3 separate regions of the Homo sapiens genome follow, and all the other regions are linked to region 3. Evidence: promoter capture Hi-C in 16 types of primary human blood cells and fetal thymus (Javierre and others, 2016). All regions are on one chromosome and are shown on one strand. Each heading gives the region's core, a stretch centred on a gene start or on the middle of the fragment in contact. The rest is flanking DNA. Distances are from core to core; before and after follow the strand shown. Region 1 overlaps PALM2AKAP2 (PALM2 and AKAP2 fusion). Region 2 overlaps PALM2AKAP2 (PALM2 and AKAP2 fusion). Region 3 holds the start of C9orf152 (chromosome 9 open reading frame 152).

Region 1 (4,826 bases), core at 350-2,849, 330 kb before region 3:
ATTTACTCATTCATTATAGGGAATTGGGCTACAATTCCATTGACTGAATGAATAAATGGATGAATTGGGAAATTCTAGGTGACACAGTGAATGTGAAGGTGGATAAAGGACAGTCCTAGCCTTCCAGGAACCAGCAGGCTACAGGGGGAACAGATGTAAAAAGAAAGAATTTGAGGATAGTATGAAAGGGCCATAGAGTGTGTCTCAGAGCCAGTAGAGGTGGAAGGCTTCTCTGGTGGTATTTTACTTGTTCTTTCTTAGGTAAATAAAGCAGAGGCCAAGGGAACAGGATGGACAACAACAATAGTAAACATTTCTATAGTACTAAGTATGTGTGTGGCCCTTTTAGCCTATAAACTCCTTTAATCCTCATAACAACCCTCTGAGCTGGGCACTGCTATTTTCTCCATTTTACAGATGAGAAAACTGAGGCTCAGTGAGGCGAAGGAGCCTGTCCAAGCTCACTCAGCTGGTAAATGGCAGACTGGTTCCAGAGCTCAGGCTGTTAGCCACTGTTCAGCATGGCCTCTTGCAGTCTCTACCCTCTTCCTGAGAGTAAATTTCAGAGCCAAGTTATAGTTCAAGAAAAGCAAAGCAATAATCATTCTTCTACTTCAGAATTGCTACCAATGAACAATTTATTTTGTGCCTACAACAGATTAAGTATCTGAATAAAAATATAAAAACATGAATTGATTAAAAAATGGCCTCTCATAATGTGCAAAACAGGGTCTGTCGGGGAAATTTTGAGAGGTTTTTGTGGAGAACAATGGTTCTGAATGTTTTGTAGAAAGAGCAACCGATTTGCCCCACCCTTTCCCACTTTCCAATGGAAAAGAATCTCTGATAAAGCTTTGATAAGCAACCAACGTAAGCAAATTGTACTGCCCTCTTTTACACATGATTTTATACTATCATACGATGCCCTATAATGTAAAAACTGTACATTTTAATACCTACCCTGGTGGTAGATGCACACTATTTATACAGAGCACATTCAACAGGCAGCATGTCACCAGTGATGCATAGCTGTTTACGCATATTGAGGTGTGGGGGTGGATCCTGTCTATAATCACTGTAAGAGTATAGTTAGGAATAATTCTATGTGAACAAACTCAAGTCTTTAAGCCTAATTATTAAAAAATTACAGGTCAAGTACCATAAATTTGCCTATGTGCTGCAAGAGTAATCAAAGAGATCTCTACAAACAATGATTTGTAATGAAAAGGCAAGAATAACATCAATAAAAACCATGGTCACCTGAACCCACACTGATGATGTATTGTCAACACAGAGTCTCTCCTGGAAGTGCAGGAATTCCAGGTTGATTGAACTTGCTCCTGGGCATGGAGCAGGGTGTCTACAGCACCAGATGACCCCTGGACTTCTCAATAGAATGGTGAATCAGGACCATTAGTGAAGTCTAACTTACTAATACTAAGTGTTGGTAATTTTTTTTTGAGACGGAGTTTCGCTCTTGTTGCGCAGGCTGGAGTGCAGTGGCATGATCTCAGCCCACTGCAACCTCTGCCCCCCAGGTTCTAGTGATTCTTCTGTCTCAGCCTCCCAAGTAGCTGGGATTACAGGCGCATGCCATCACACCTGGTTAATTTTGTATTTTTAGTTGACATGGGGTTTCTCTATGTTGGTCAGGCTAGTCGCGAACTCCTGACCTCAGGTGATACGCCTGCCTTGGCCTCCCAAAGTGTTGGGATTACAGGCGCGAGCCACCGTGCCCAGCCCAGTGTTGGTTATTTTTAAAGACTCATCAGTTCATAATAAAATGCCCTTAATGCCGCATACAAATGAGAGTCTATGGAATTGTGCATCCTTCGCTCATAAGAGCTTCAGGGAGTGCTCCAAGCCTCCATTCCCTGGCTCTCAGTCTTTAGAAGAGTTCTTTCCTTTCACCTCGCTCACCCTGCCTGATGAGATCAAACGAAATTCTGGACAGAGGTGATGCCAGTGAGCCAGGGAGCCAAAGAGCCAGGTCTTTATTCTGTGTTAGGTGGCTTAATAGTCATTGCTCCTGCTGTTCCTTTCGTTGCTTACTATTTCTGGGAAGAATTGTTCATGTGCCCTGCATCCTCACTGTGGTCCCCTCTGGTGACCACTGACCTGCCCATGGGCATGGTCACTGGTCCTTAGCCATGATGTACAGGGTCAGTAGCTGCTGCCGTCTGCCATCTAGGGACCATATAAGTGGAACCTGAATCAAAATTATCCTCTCACATCTACCTCTCCTTGCTCTTCCTTTTAGGGAATTTCAACATGCTTTTTTCTGGAACTGTTTTCATTTCCCTTCTCAAAGCAGTAATTGCTGCCTCCGAACCATTGACCTGAAACAAAAGCTTTTTATTCCACTGTACTGTATCGTAGTACACTTGCAAACATGGGATGTATGGTTTTTTTTTTTTTTTTTGACAGGGTCTCGTTCTATCACCCAGGCTGGAGTGCAGTGGCACGGTCACAGCTCGCTGCAGCCTTGACCTACCTGGCTCAAGCGATCCTCCCACCTCAGCCTTCCCAAGTAGCTGGGACTACAGGCGTGCACCACCACACCCAGCTAATTGTTTAATTTTTTGTAGAGACAAGGTCTCACTATGTTGCCCAAGCTGGTCTACAACTCCTGGAATCAAGCAATCCTCCTGCCTCAGCCTCCCAAAGTGTTGGGATTACAGACATCAGCCACGGTGCCCATCTAGGGGCATATGATTTTTATAACATTTGGAGATTATTACTGAAGATGATTGGGAGTCATTAAAGAAGGGAGTCATTGAAGAAGAGTCTTGACAATCTTTTTAAAACACTTTAATATGGACCAGATATTAGGTGGTCTTAGGAAGTTTTTTAATTAAATTACAGTTGCATAGAAAAATGTTCTTAATTTTTAGAGACTCATACTGACATATTGTTGGGTAAAATATGGTTGTTATTTAGTTTAAAATCATTTGATGAGAAACATATGGGAAAATATGGCAAAATGTTCATAATTGTTAAATCTAGATGAGGTTACATGGTCATTCATTATACAGTTCTATTTTTAAATTTTTTTAATAATAGAAAATGATATAGAGATAAATCTCCTTGGGTGTTGATCTAGAGGGAAGTAGGGAGCCATGTTAGTGAGGAGGTGAAGGCAGCGATTCAGGCAGCGCTGGTGAGGGGTGGAGCTAAAACAGCACCACTGCAGAGGGAGAGGACAGTGTGGACTGAAAAGTATCATCTTGTCTGTTGTCTTCCCTCACTTCCACAGTCCAAAGTGCTTCGGGAGAAATGGCTGCTGCAGGGCATACCCGCTGGAACTGCCGAAGAGGAGGAAGCCAGGAGGCGGCAGTCTGAAGAGGATGAGTTCAGAGTCAAGCAACTTGAAGATAACATTCAGAGGTAGGTGGCTTCCAGCCCAGGGAACCCATGCTACAGTTTTTCAGTGCAGTAACCACTGCTCTCCTCTAGGTGGCCTTTCTCAATACTGTTACCTTCTCCTGTACTTGAGAATTTTCTTCCTAAACAAAGCACATTGATGTTGTTTAAACTTTTCCAGATGACCCAGAGTTATGACACAGAGTACTAATAATTTTTTATTTTTATTTTTAACTTTTATTTTAAGTTTAGGGGTACAAATACAGGTTTGTTACATAGGTAAACTTGTATCGTGGGGATTTGTTGAACAGATTATTTCACCACCCAGGTATTAAGCCTAGTACCCGTTAGTTATTTTTCCTGATTCTCTCCCTCCTCCCTCCCTTCACCCTCCAAAAGGCCCCAGTGTGTGTTGTTCCCTTCTACGTGTCCGTGTGTTCCATCATTAGTTCTCACTTATAAATGAGAACATGCAGTATTTGGTTTTCTGTTCCTGTGTTAGTTTGGTAAGGATAATGGCCTCCACCTCTATCCATGTCCCTACAAAGGACATGATCTCATCCTTTTTTGTGGCTGCAAAGAGTACTAATTATTGCACTGGGCTGTAATACAGCACAGTGATGGCTTCATGGGCCCACAAGGTGTTGTGAGCAGCTTGCCCCTTCACTAGGTGCTCCCTTTGAGTTCTTATATTAGCTTTCATCTTTTTCCTCCTTCGGGTCAGGTTGTTAGCTGTTATTGCTGCTGTAGTGAGTCTGTTTTCAAATTTGCTGTATTTGGTCAATTCGAAATGTGAAAACTGTAGTCAACAGTCTTGGGATTGAAATGAAGAGTGTGGAAGTGCTGAGTGAGAGCACCTCTGTAGGTTATGTGCCCGTGCTCTAAAAATTAACTTTGTATTGTCTGCTTTCACTGCTCAGAGAGTGGTTTCTTTATGGTTCTCAACCAGGATCTGATCACTTCAATCTGGGAGATAAGCGACCTGTCTGTGGGCAATAACTGGCCAGGCTCACACAAGAGCAATAATGTAGGTTTTTACTTGGGAGCTATAGCCACTCCAGGTCCCAGGACACCTAGCCAGAGAGATATGAGATAGGGATGGAAGGTGGTAAGCATAGATGCCTTAGAACCAAATCTGTCCCTCCAACCCATCCCACCAAATTCTACCTGAAATCTCACCACCTGGAGCTTCATCTCTGTCTTCTGAGCTTATGAGCTCTTTTTTTTTTTTTTTTTTTTTTTTTTTAGATGGAGTCTCGCTCTGTCACTAGGCTGGAGTACAGTGGCACAATCTTGGCTCACTGCAACCTCCGCCTCCCGGGTTCAAGCGATTCTCCTGCCTCAGCCTCCCGAGTAGCTGGGACTACAGGCGTGCACCAACCACGCCCAGCTAATTTTTGTATTTTTAGTAGAGATGGGGTTTCACCATGTTGGCCAGGATAGTCTTGATCTCTTGACCTTGT
Region 2 (4,478 bases), core at 561-3,060, 350 kb before region 3:
AAATGAAACATGAAGGTAGAAAGTAGAATAATAAGTTACAAGAAGTGGAGAAGGGAGTGTGTGTAGTGGAGGATGAGAGAGGTTGGTTAATGGGTACAATTATACAGTTAGGTAGAAGGAATAAGATCTAAGGTTGGATAGCACAGTAAGGTGACTTTAGTTAACAACAATATATTTTAGATTTTAACATAGCTGGAAGAGAGGACTAAAAATGTTCCCAACACAAAGAAATGATAAATACACGAGATGGTGGATGTCCTGAACACCCTGGTTATTATACATCCTATGCATGTAACAAAATATTACAGGTACCCAACAAATGTGTACAAATATCATATGTCAATAAAACAATTAAAAGTAAATAACTACAGAAAACAATACAAAGCTGGCAGTTCCTTCTTTTACAGATAGATGGCAAGCTCAAGTCCAAATAATCAGTTGAAGAAAAGAGAAGTTATGTAGATGGAAATGCTGGTCCAAACTAAGGGATGAGGAATAAATAGAGTTGTGGAATTATCCACTTCACCTGGTGATGTTGCGGGTTAAATGGGTACATGGCTAGGCAGAACAATGTAGAAAACCTACCTTACTTGTTCTTCTGACCAAGCCTTTTAAGGCTGTCATTTAAAATGGCTCTGAGTTCTGTTTCTTAGTTTTGTAGGATCAGAAAATCACATGCCAACTTAGCTTTCAGCTACTTATCTACAAACCCAAGTGTCTATTTATTTTTCAGTGGATGGACACTGCAGGGGTCTTAGCAAGTACCATCTCTCCATTTAGCTAACTACATAGGAAGCCTGAATAGAAATCAGGATTATGATTGGTGATCTTGAAGACAGAGCCAGGAGAGTGAGTTTTAATATCTGATGGTGTTGAGATGAGATAACTGATCTCGAACAGGGATGTGTCTGCTGAGCAAACTCAGCATTACTTGTTAGCTGGACAGGCGATTGGACAAAGCTGAGTGAGCACCTCTTCAATTTTTTTTATGCTTGATTACTCAGGTTTTCAGTTTTTAGACAGACTATTTTTCTTTTTTTTCCCCTCAGATGTATAAATAGCATTGAATCTGCAGTAGTGTTAGAAAGGTAATTATAACCCAACCATGTCTGAGATGACATTGTGATTTCTTAATAGAAAAAGCTTGTTGGGTCCCCACTTGCAAGTTGATTTTTCATAATTTAATTCTCAAAATGTCACCTTATTTCTTGGTGTAACCCAGATAAAACCTAGGTATCCTGGCAATCCAGTTTCAGCATGAAGTTATATTCAAAGGAACACAGGCTAGTTGGCCAAAGTAATTTCAGTATCCTTACTGGAATCTTCTGGAGAACATCAGAGGGGATTCATTTTATAAGCCACAGTAAAATATCTCAAGATTCTCTTTTCCTGATTTCCTGGCCTTAATATCTCAGCCTTTTCATTTTAAACTCTTGAACTTTAAACTGTCTCTGACCCCTTTCAGTGCTTTACTTCTTCATCTCTTCTTTCCTTTTCTCGATCATTTTTCCCCCTAAATAGCATCCCCACCCATTCCCTTTCCAAGTGCAACTATATAAAACAGTCTGTTTCTCGCAGTTTTTCAGTACTTTACCTCTTTCTCTGATTCTTCATTTCAAAAGCCTAGGAATCCTCTGGCAAAAAGTCACTTAAAAGGTTTGGGGCAAGGAAACAAGATTCCCTTTAGCTCACATGGAAGGAAGTCAAAGCTGAATTATCTTCATCTAGCAATAGAAAGAATAAAGATTGCAACGTTTACAATTTAATATATTTTCTTTACCCTCCTCTTGTCTAAATTCTGTGATCTCATGATGGCAAGAGGGCCTTGAGTAGGTCTTCTGGTCCCTTCCCACTGCTGTGCCCTGGGGCGCGAGGTATCAGCGCAAGCTAGAATGGGGGTTCAGTGGAGGAAAGGAAACACCCTATTTCTGCTTCTGACTACCTTCCCTGCTTAGCCTCTTTCCCTGTCTCCCTGTTTCTCACACACTCAGTTGGGACACCCACCTTGTCCACAGCCACAGCCTGGCATCTCCTAGTGCTCCAGTTGCAGCACAGTCAGCAGGAGAGAAGAGGGAGTCTCAAGGAGCAAAAAGGTGGAAATAGGCTTTCCTAACAACAGGTGCTTGCCATGTCTGTCTTCTCATCATATTTATTGAACAGAATGTGCTTCATTCTCTACGGGTGCTCTTTAACAATAGTTTACGTGTTATGTTACGAACATGTTATGATTATAACATGTTCTATCATGTTATAATCCTTCCAGAAAATACTTGCCAGGAAAATATATAATTTATAGAAAGTGAATGAAAGTGGCTTGTTAGCCTTCCCAGATAGTGGAGGAATCTGGAAGTCTTTCTAATGGATTGAGATCACGTCATTCCAGATGTCTCTTGAGGCACACTGCCCCGAATGGTTGCTACTGTCAGCTCATTATGCTTTTCCCTGGAATTTCCACTTCCCCCGCCTTTCTCCCCAGAATAAGCTTTCCATGATTCTTTCCCAGAATTAGCCTTTTCAACTCTTTCCTCATATGCATAGCAACAGTAATTTATTTCATGTGGGTTAATGTCTTTAGCATTAGGACACTTCTGGTTTTATGGACTGATGGCCAATGTGTTTTTAATAATGTATTTTGCTTCTATTGAAGTCATGAGTACAAATTCGTAATTCATTTGAATGAGGGATATGGACAAACAGGAACACAAGTGGAAGAGAGAAAAAAGAGGATAGTACACTCAGAGATACTCAGTAAGCATAAATTACATGTATTCATCATACAATATTCTAGGCTTTAGAGATGTGTCAGCCAAGATCCTTGTCCTCAAGGAGCCCATAGTTTGTTAGAGAGAGAAGATGTGTAAATAGTTAAGTGTATAAAGTGCTACAGTGCTTGAGGTCTAATGTAGAAAAATCCACAGCCTGTGGGGAGGGAAGAGAAAGGAGGGAGTGATGCAATCTATTTGGAGGGAACAGAAAAATCTTCTGTATTTGTCAGTACTCTTTGAGTTGTAAGTGGTAGAAACATCACTCAAACTAGCTTAAGAAAATGGGAGATTTATTAGTGTATATAATTTAGGAAGCCTGGGGATGGTTCTGGCTTCATGCATGACTAGATCTGGGACTCAAACAATGTAGTAGGACCCTTTTTTCTCTTTCAACTCTGCCTCCCTCTGCATGTTGACTTTATTTTCTTCAATGTAGATGCATTTCTTTTATGTGACTTGGAAAAATTGCTACTCAGAAGTACATCATCTCAGCTTAATCCTAGTGGTATGTTTTTTCACTTCTCTCCTGGTATCCGTGTGTCTGTCCCTAGAAATGTCTCTAACTGGTGTTTCTCAGTTCACTTAGCTATCCCTTGGATCAATAGCTATTGCAAAGAAACGAGGTAGCATGATTGGCCTAACCTGGCTCACAAACAAGTCCTAGTGGCAGGAATGAGCTAACCATGACTGGCATTTCCACCAGAGCCATTTACAGTGAGGGTAGATGTGTTTCCCCAAAGGAAAGAAGACTAGGCAGATCAAAATTGACAGATGTTCATTAAAGCTTCATGGATATTTAAACTGTGCCATCATAGATGAATTGTTTTTTGTCAAATGAAGCAGCAGTGCACATCGATTATTGTTAGAGGAAGCAATAAGAACAAAACTAAGAGGACATGAACCAGCCGGGAAGATCAGGAGACTGCAAGTAGTCTTTGAGGTTGGATCATGGTAGGGGGCCATGGCTTGAGATGAAGCTGTGAAATAGACAGGAGCCTCACTGGCTATGCTAGGGAACCTGCTCTTTGCACTGTAGGCAATGGGGAGACATCCTTGGTTTTAGGCAAGGGTCGGAGGTGGTCAGATTTCCATTTTAGAATATCACTCTGGCAGCAGTGTGGAGATTGAGTTGGAGAAGCCAAGAATGGATGCAGGGAGACTAATAAGGAAACCACTACAGTAATCCAGCTGGAGATAAGTTCTGTAATGTGCTAAAGATGCTAATATGGAATAGTCTCCATGTCCAGGTAGGAGATGAAGGAAGGAGGGTTAAGGCAATACTCAAGGTTATAGTGGGGAAGCAAAAGATGTGGAAACTGGCCAGCAGAATCAACATGACTTGGTCTTTCAAGAAAGTAAGTGTCTAGGATGACTTAGATTTCTGACTTAAGTAGTGTCATTTGCTGAGATGAAACATAGAAGAAGGAACAGGTGTGAAGGTAGAGGGTGGGGGATTGCTTGAGATGGTGACTGCATGTGTTTGAGTTTGGGGGAGTGACTATGAATAGTTGGCAGTTCAGTATAGGGATCTGCAGCTCAAAGGAGAGGTAGAGTTGTAGAGTGGATGAGAATGAAGGCCCGAAGAGTTACTGGTTTTGTCCTGGTTAAGGGAAGGAGAAATCTGGAAACCAGTGGGCTATCCCGGTGAGGAGCACAGCTCAGACCTCAGCCATCAAACAAGTATCAGAAACTGCAAGTGAGTTCCTTAATGGT
Region 3 (4,357 bases), core at 562-3,061:
GCATTGTGTTTCCATTTGATAGGGATTTAAATTGATAAATGTTTGTTGAATAACTGAATGAATAAATACCCTCAAGGGTGGGATAGAGCTTTAGGAACCTTTCAGTTTATGCCCTGCAGAGATGGTGACTGTTTGGCTGTGCCAGTTCACTCCTGCCAGGAACGAGGATTCCATTGGTTGGCAACAGCCCAGGTAATGGGAGATGGGCTCCTTCAGCTCAGAGGTGCCACTTTTGTTCCCAAAAGGCAGCACACTTCCTGCCCTAGACAGAGAGGTCCCTCTGGCCCCTGATTCCTGCCCAGTCTGGCCTGGCAAAGGGCAGCCCAAAGAGTCTACTGAACTCTACAAATAACCACAGAATCCCACAGAGCCCAGCTTTGACCTTTCAGGGTATCTTCCCTTCTCCCTCAACCTGTTCCTCTGTTAGAGGAGGAAGGGCTGGGATTTGACATGCCCTTGCTTTCTGAGCCCTGTGCCTCTAACTCCCTCCTGGAATGAAATCTGAGTTCCTAAAGGGAGGAGGTTTCTCCCCATGAGGGGGTTTCTGTGTCCAATCACACCTCCCTGCCTGATGTTTGAGGCTGGATGAGCCTGGGATGCCTCATGGGTCTCTGAGCCCTAGGCGTCCTCTGGCCCAGACAGTTCCCAGGCTGTTGGGAACGCCATGTCTTCTACCTCCAGAGTGAATTTCTCTGGTTTGTAGGAGGTGCCTTAGTTAGACCCAGCCAGGAAGCAGAGCTCCTATCGCCATACCTGGGCTAGCAGGGGGGCCAAGCCTGGCTCACCAGGCTGACCAGTCTAGCAAGATTAGAACATCAGAGCAGAGGCCAGGAACAGTGCTGGCAGCCAGGTGCTTGGCTGAGGCCCCTGGCTCCCTTAGCAGGTGGGACAGCTGAGCAGAGCTGCCCTGAGCCCGCCTCCCCTGCTCTTCCCCACTGGGAGGGAGGGCTGGCAAAGCCCTGGCTCTGCCTCCCTGCAGCTCTGCCACTCAGGTCTCCCATGGTAAGTCTCTCCTTCCCCAGCACCTGTCCATTCCTACCTTTTGGAAGCACCAGGAGGTGGGCCTGGGTCCTCTGCTGCCTCTTCAAGCCTTCATACTGGGCTCGCAGGAACTGGATGCTGAGTGGGGGCCCTTTCCCAGGGGCCTGAGTCCTGGAGCCCTCAGCCATTAAGTGAGACCTAAGCTGCCAGAAGTGGGGCAGGGCTGGGCACGGGCAGGGCAACCCCTCCATCCGGATCCGGGAGAAAAGCAAACACAGCTGGGTGGGGCAGGACCTGGGGAGGGGAGAGAGAGGGAGGGGGCAGTGAGGGAGAAGGAGAAGTGACGGGCAAAAGGAGGGTGGAAAGAGGAGTGGGACTGAGGAAGGAGATAGAAAAATAAGGGGGAAGGAGAAAGATGAAGGGGAAGAGGAGGTAGGGATAGGGAGAAATGTGGGGGAGGAGAAAGGTGGGAGACAGTGGCAGTAAGAGGAGAAGGAAATGTCAGAGGAAAGAAGGGGCAGCGAAGGGGGAAAGACTGGAGGAAGGAGGTGATAGTGACAAGCGGGGATTAATGGGGCGAGAGAAGAAAGAGAGGGAGGAAGATGGAGACAGGCAGGAGGAGGCAGGGAAAGGAGTGATGGGGAGTGGGAGACCGAGAAGTAAGGGGAGGACTGGGGGAGCAAAGAGAAAGGCAAGCCCAGCTGCTCAGAGCCCTTCAGGGGGGTCAAGAAGGTGTCTTATTCCAGGTCCTTCCATTGCTTGATCCTAAAGTTTAGAATCCAATTCCCAGTGCCACGGTGAAGTCTCCCCTTTCCTGGCAGAGCTGGGACTGGGGCTGGGGAGTGCTAAGCTCGCGCTCTGCTCACACATTTTGGACTGGAACGTGGCCACTTTTCAGCAAACCTGCCGGTTGGGTTTGCAGTAGTTCAAAGAACACCCTCGGGAGCTTCACAAGGTCGGTGCCTCTGGATGTGTGCCCCGCGGCCACACCCTAAAGAAACCCAGTAGCAAAGATCTCCCCAAGATCTCCACTCAGACCCCAACACACACCCCAGGTGAAAATTCAGCCCTAAAGTCAGCCATGGGACAGAGCCCAGGGGAATCTTGGCCTCGGGCCAGCCCTACCCCTTGGACATTTGGTGCAGCCTCTGCCGTCTCAGCATTCTCCAACCAAGTGGTAAGTTAGGCATCCCCTCACTCTCTGCTTGCCAGCCTCAACATTTCCACATTGCTTTTGAATCCCAGACCCTCTCCCTCTTACACCAGCTTTGACCTAGCCTTGCTGCATTTGGTCAACTAAGTCCCTTTCTATCTTCTCCTATCACGGTGCTTACTGATTACCCAATTACCCAATATGTCTACAGAGGCAATGGAAACAGAGTAGAGCCTGAACCTACAAGACATTTTGGACATTAACCAGACAAGATCTAGTCATTTGATGTGGGGGAGCCGTGGAAGATGGAGAGCAAATCTTCACTGGGTAGTATATGTTAGTTTTGCTAGGGCTGCCATAACGAAATCCCACAAACTGGATGTCTTAAACAACAAACATTATTGTCTCAGAGTTCTGGAGGTTAGAAGTCCAAAGTCAAGGTGTGAGCAGGGTTGGTTTCTTCTTGGAGCTGTGTGAGAGTATCTGTTCCATGCCTCTCACCTTGCTTCTGATGGTTTGCTAGCAATCTCTGGTATTCTTTGGCTTGCAAAAACATTGCCTAATCTCTGCCTTTATCTTGACATGATGTTCTTCCTTTTTATTTTTTTATTTTATTTTTTTTTTGAGAGGGAGTCTCACTCTGTCGCCCAGGCTGGAGTGCAGTGGCGTAATCTCAGCTCACTGCAAGCTCTGCCTCCCGGGTTCGCATCATTCTCCTGCCTCAGCCTCCCGAGTAGCTGGGACTACAGGCACCCGCCACCGCGCCCAGCTAATTTTTTGTATTTTTCGTAGAGACAGGGTTTCACCGTGGTCTCGATCTCCTGACCTTGTGATCCGCCCGCCTTGGCCTCCCAAAGTGCTGGGATTACAGGCGTGAGCCACCACACCCGGCCTAATATGATGTTCTTCCTATGTGGGTGTCTCTGTGCCCAATTTTCCCCTTTTTATAAGTACAGCAATCACATTGGATTAGAGCTCAATCTGTCTCAAAAAAATACCGAGAGAGATAGCCAAAGCTTCCTCATACCTTTTTATCGGTAGATCACTCTATCATGAAGGCAAGAGCAACCCATCCATGCTGGACCAGCTGCACCTGCCATGAAATCATGGCAGTAGACATCATGGCAGTAGGCTGGCCACAATGGCTCACAACTGTAATCCCAGCACTTTGGGAGGCTGAGGTGGGTGTATTGATTGTGCCCTGGAGTTCAGGACCAGCCTGGGCAACATAGTGAAACTCTGTATCTACAAAAATTAGCCAGGCATGGTGGCACATGCCTGTAGTCCGAGCTACTCGGGTGGCTGAGGTGGGATGATCACTTGAACCCAGAAGCTCGAGGCTGAAATGAGCCATGATTGCACCACTGTACTTCAGCCTGGGTAACAGAGTGAGCTCCTGTCTCAGAAAGAAAAGAGAAGAGAAGAGAAGAGAAGAGAAGAGAAGAGAAGAGAAGAGAAGAGGAGGAGAGAAATAATGGCAGTAGAAATTTCTACTATATTTTCGCATTTACTTGTCAGCCTTCATCTTTTAGTATTAACAGTTTTTGTCTTTTTCTATATGGGTGCGTTTGTGGATATTTTGATGAGAAGTAAATTGAGGCTGTCTACTGCTGATTGAATGCCTTTTAGGAGCTTAAATTCCTTCTTTTAGTTCATATAGTTCCTCTTTCTTTTAAAACTCAAATCTTTAATCCATTTGAAATTTATTTTGGTGTTGTGTTAGGTATAAGGCAAGGATCTAGGGGTTTTTTCCTCCAAATAATTGACCAGTTGTTTCAATAGCACTTACTGAATAAACTTTCCTTTCCTTGGTCTGTGATAACAATAACAATAGTATAAGAAAAAACTGGCAACTCTATCTCATCCCAGGGAGTCTTCAGAAATAAATGAAAAAAGATGATCAAGCCTGGAGTTTGTTCTGGGTGGCTGCCACTAAATGGGTGACTTTCATTATCCAGGTATATCCTTCAGAGGAACTGGAAATAAGCTTCAAAGTTGTTCAGGGCTGGAGACGCTGGAGTAGGAATAAGATGTCTTGTGATTCTAGGGAATATTTTGTTTTTCTGTATATATGTAAACTGTATGGAACATGAAATGTCCCATTCTGGTTGAGAGATAAGACTGTGCTTAATGTAGCAGGTTAGTTCATTACCGGAACCAGCATCCCTACAGCCCTCCCTGGAGCTTCCAGTAAAATAACTTAGACCAGAGGCTCCAGGTCCA

The links. Contacts are between HindIII fragments. The CHiCAGO score rates a contact against its expected background, and 5 or more counts as called.
Region 1: a contact is called between a fragment that was not itself captured here and the fragment with the promoter of C9orf152 in region 3, in 3 of 17 cell types (naive B cells, endothelial precursors and total B cells). The highest score is 8.0, in naive B cells.
Region 2: a fragment that was not itself captured here is called in contact with the fragment with the promoter of C9orf152 in region 3 in 1 of 17 cell types (total B cells); the score reaches 6.8 in total B cells.

What each region holds. Positions count from the first base shown.
Region 1 is chr9:109,877,295-109,882,120 of GRCh38, forward strand. It overlaps PALM2AKAP2 (PALM2 and AKAP2 fusion), which reads left to right. Exons shown (of 11, transcript NM_007203.5): 3 at 3,257-3,387. Among named protein-coding and RNA genes, the nearest start is that of PALM2AKAP2, 100 kb to the left of the region's middle. The HindIII fragment of the contact is 1,499 bases long and covers 851-2,349 here.
Region 2 is chr9:109,859,221-109,863,698 of GRCh38, forward strand. The region is part of intron 1 of PALM2AKAP2 (PALM2 and AKAP2 fusion); the gene reads left to right. Among named protein-coding and RNA genes, the nearest start is that of PALM2AKAP2, 81 kb to the left of the region's middle. The HindIII fragment of the contact is 1,339 bases long and covers 1,142-2,480 here.
Region 3 is chr9:110,206,348-110,210,704 of GRCh38, forward strand. C9orf152 (chromosome 9 open reading frame 152) reads right to left here and starts at 1,812. Exons shown (of 2, transcript NM_001012993.3): 1 at 1,040-1,812. The coding sequence starts at 1,232. RefSeq lists enhancers at 481-981, 982-1,482. The HindIII fragment of the contact is 8,259 bases long and covers 1-3,148 here.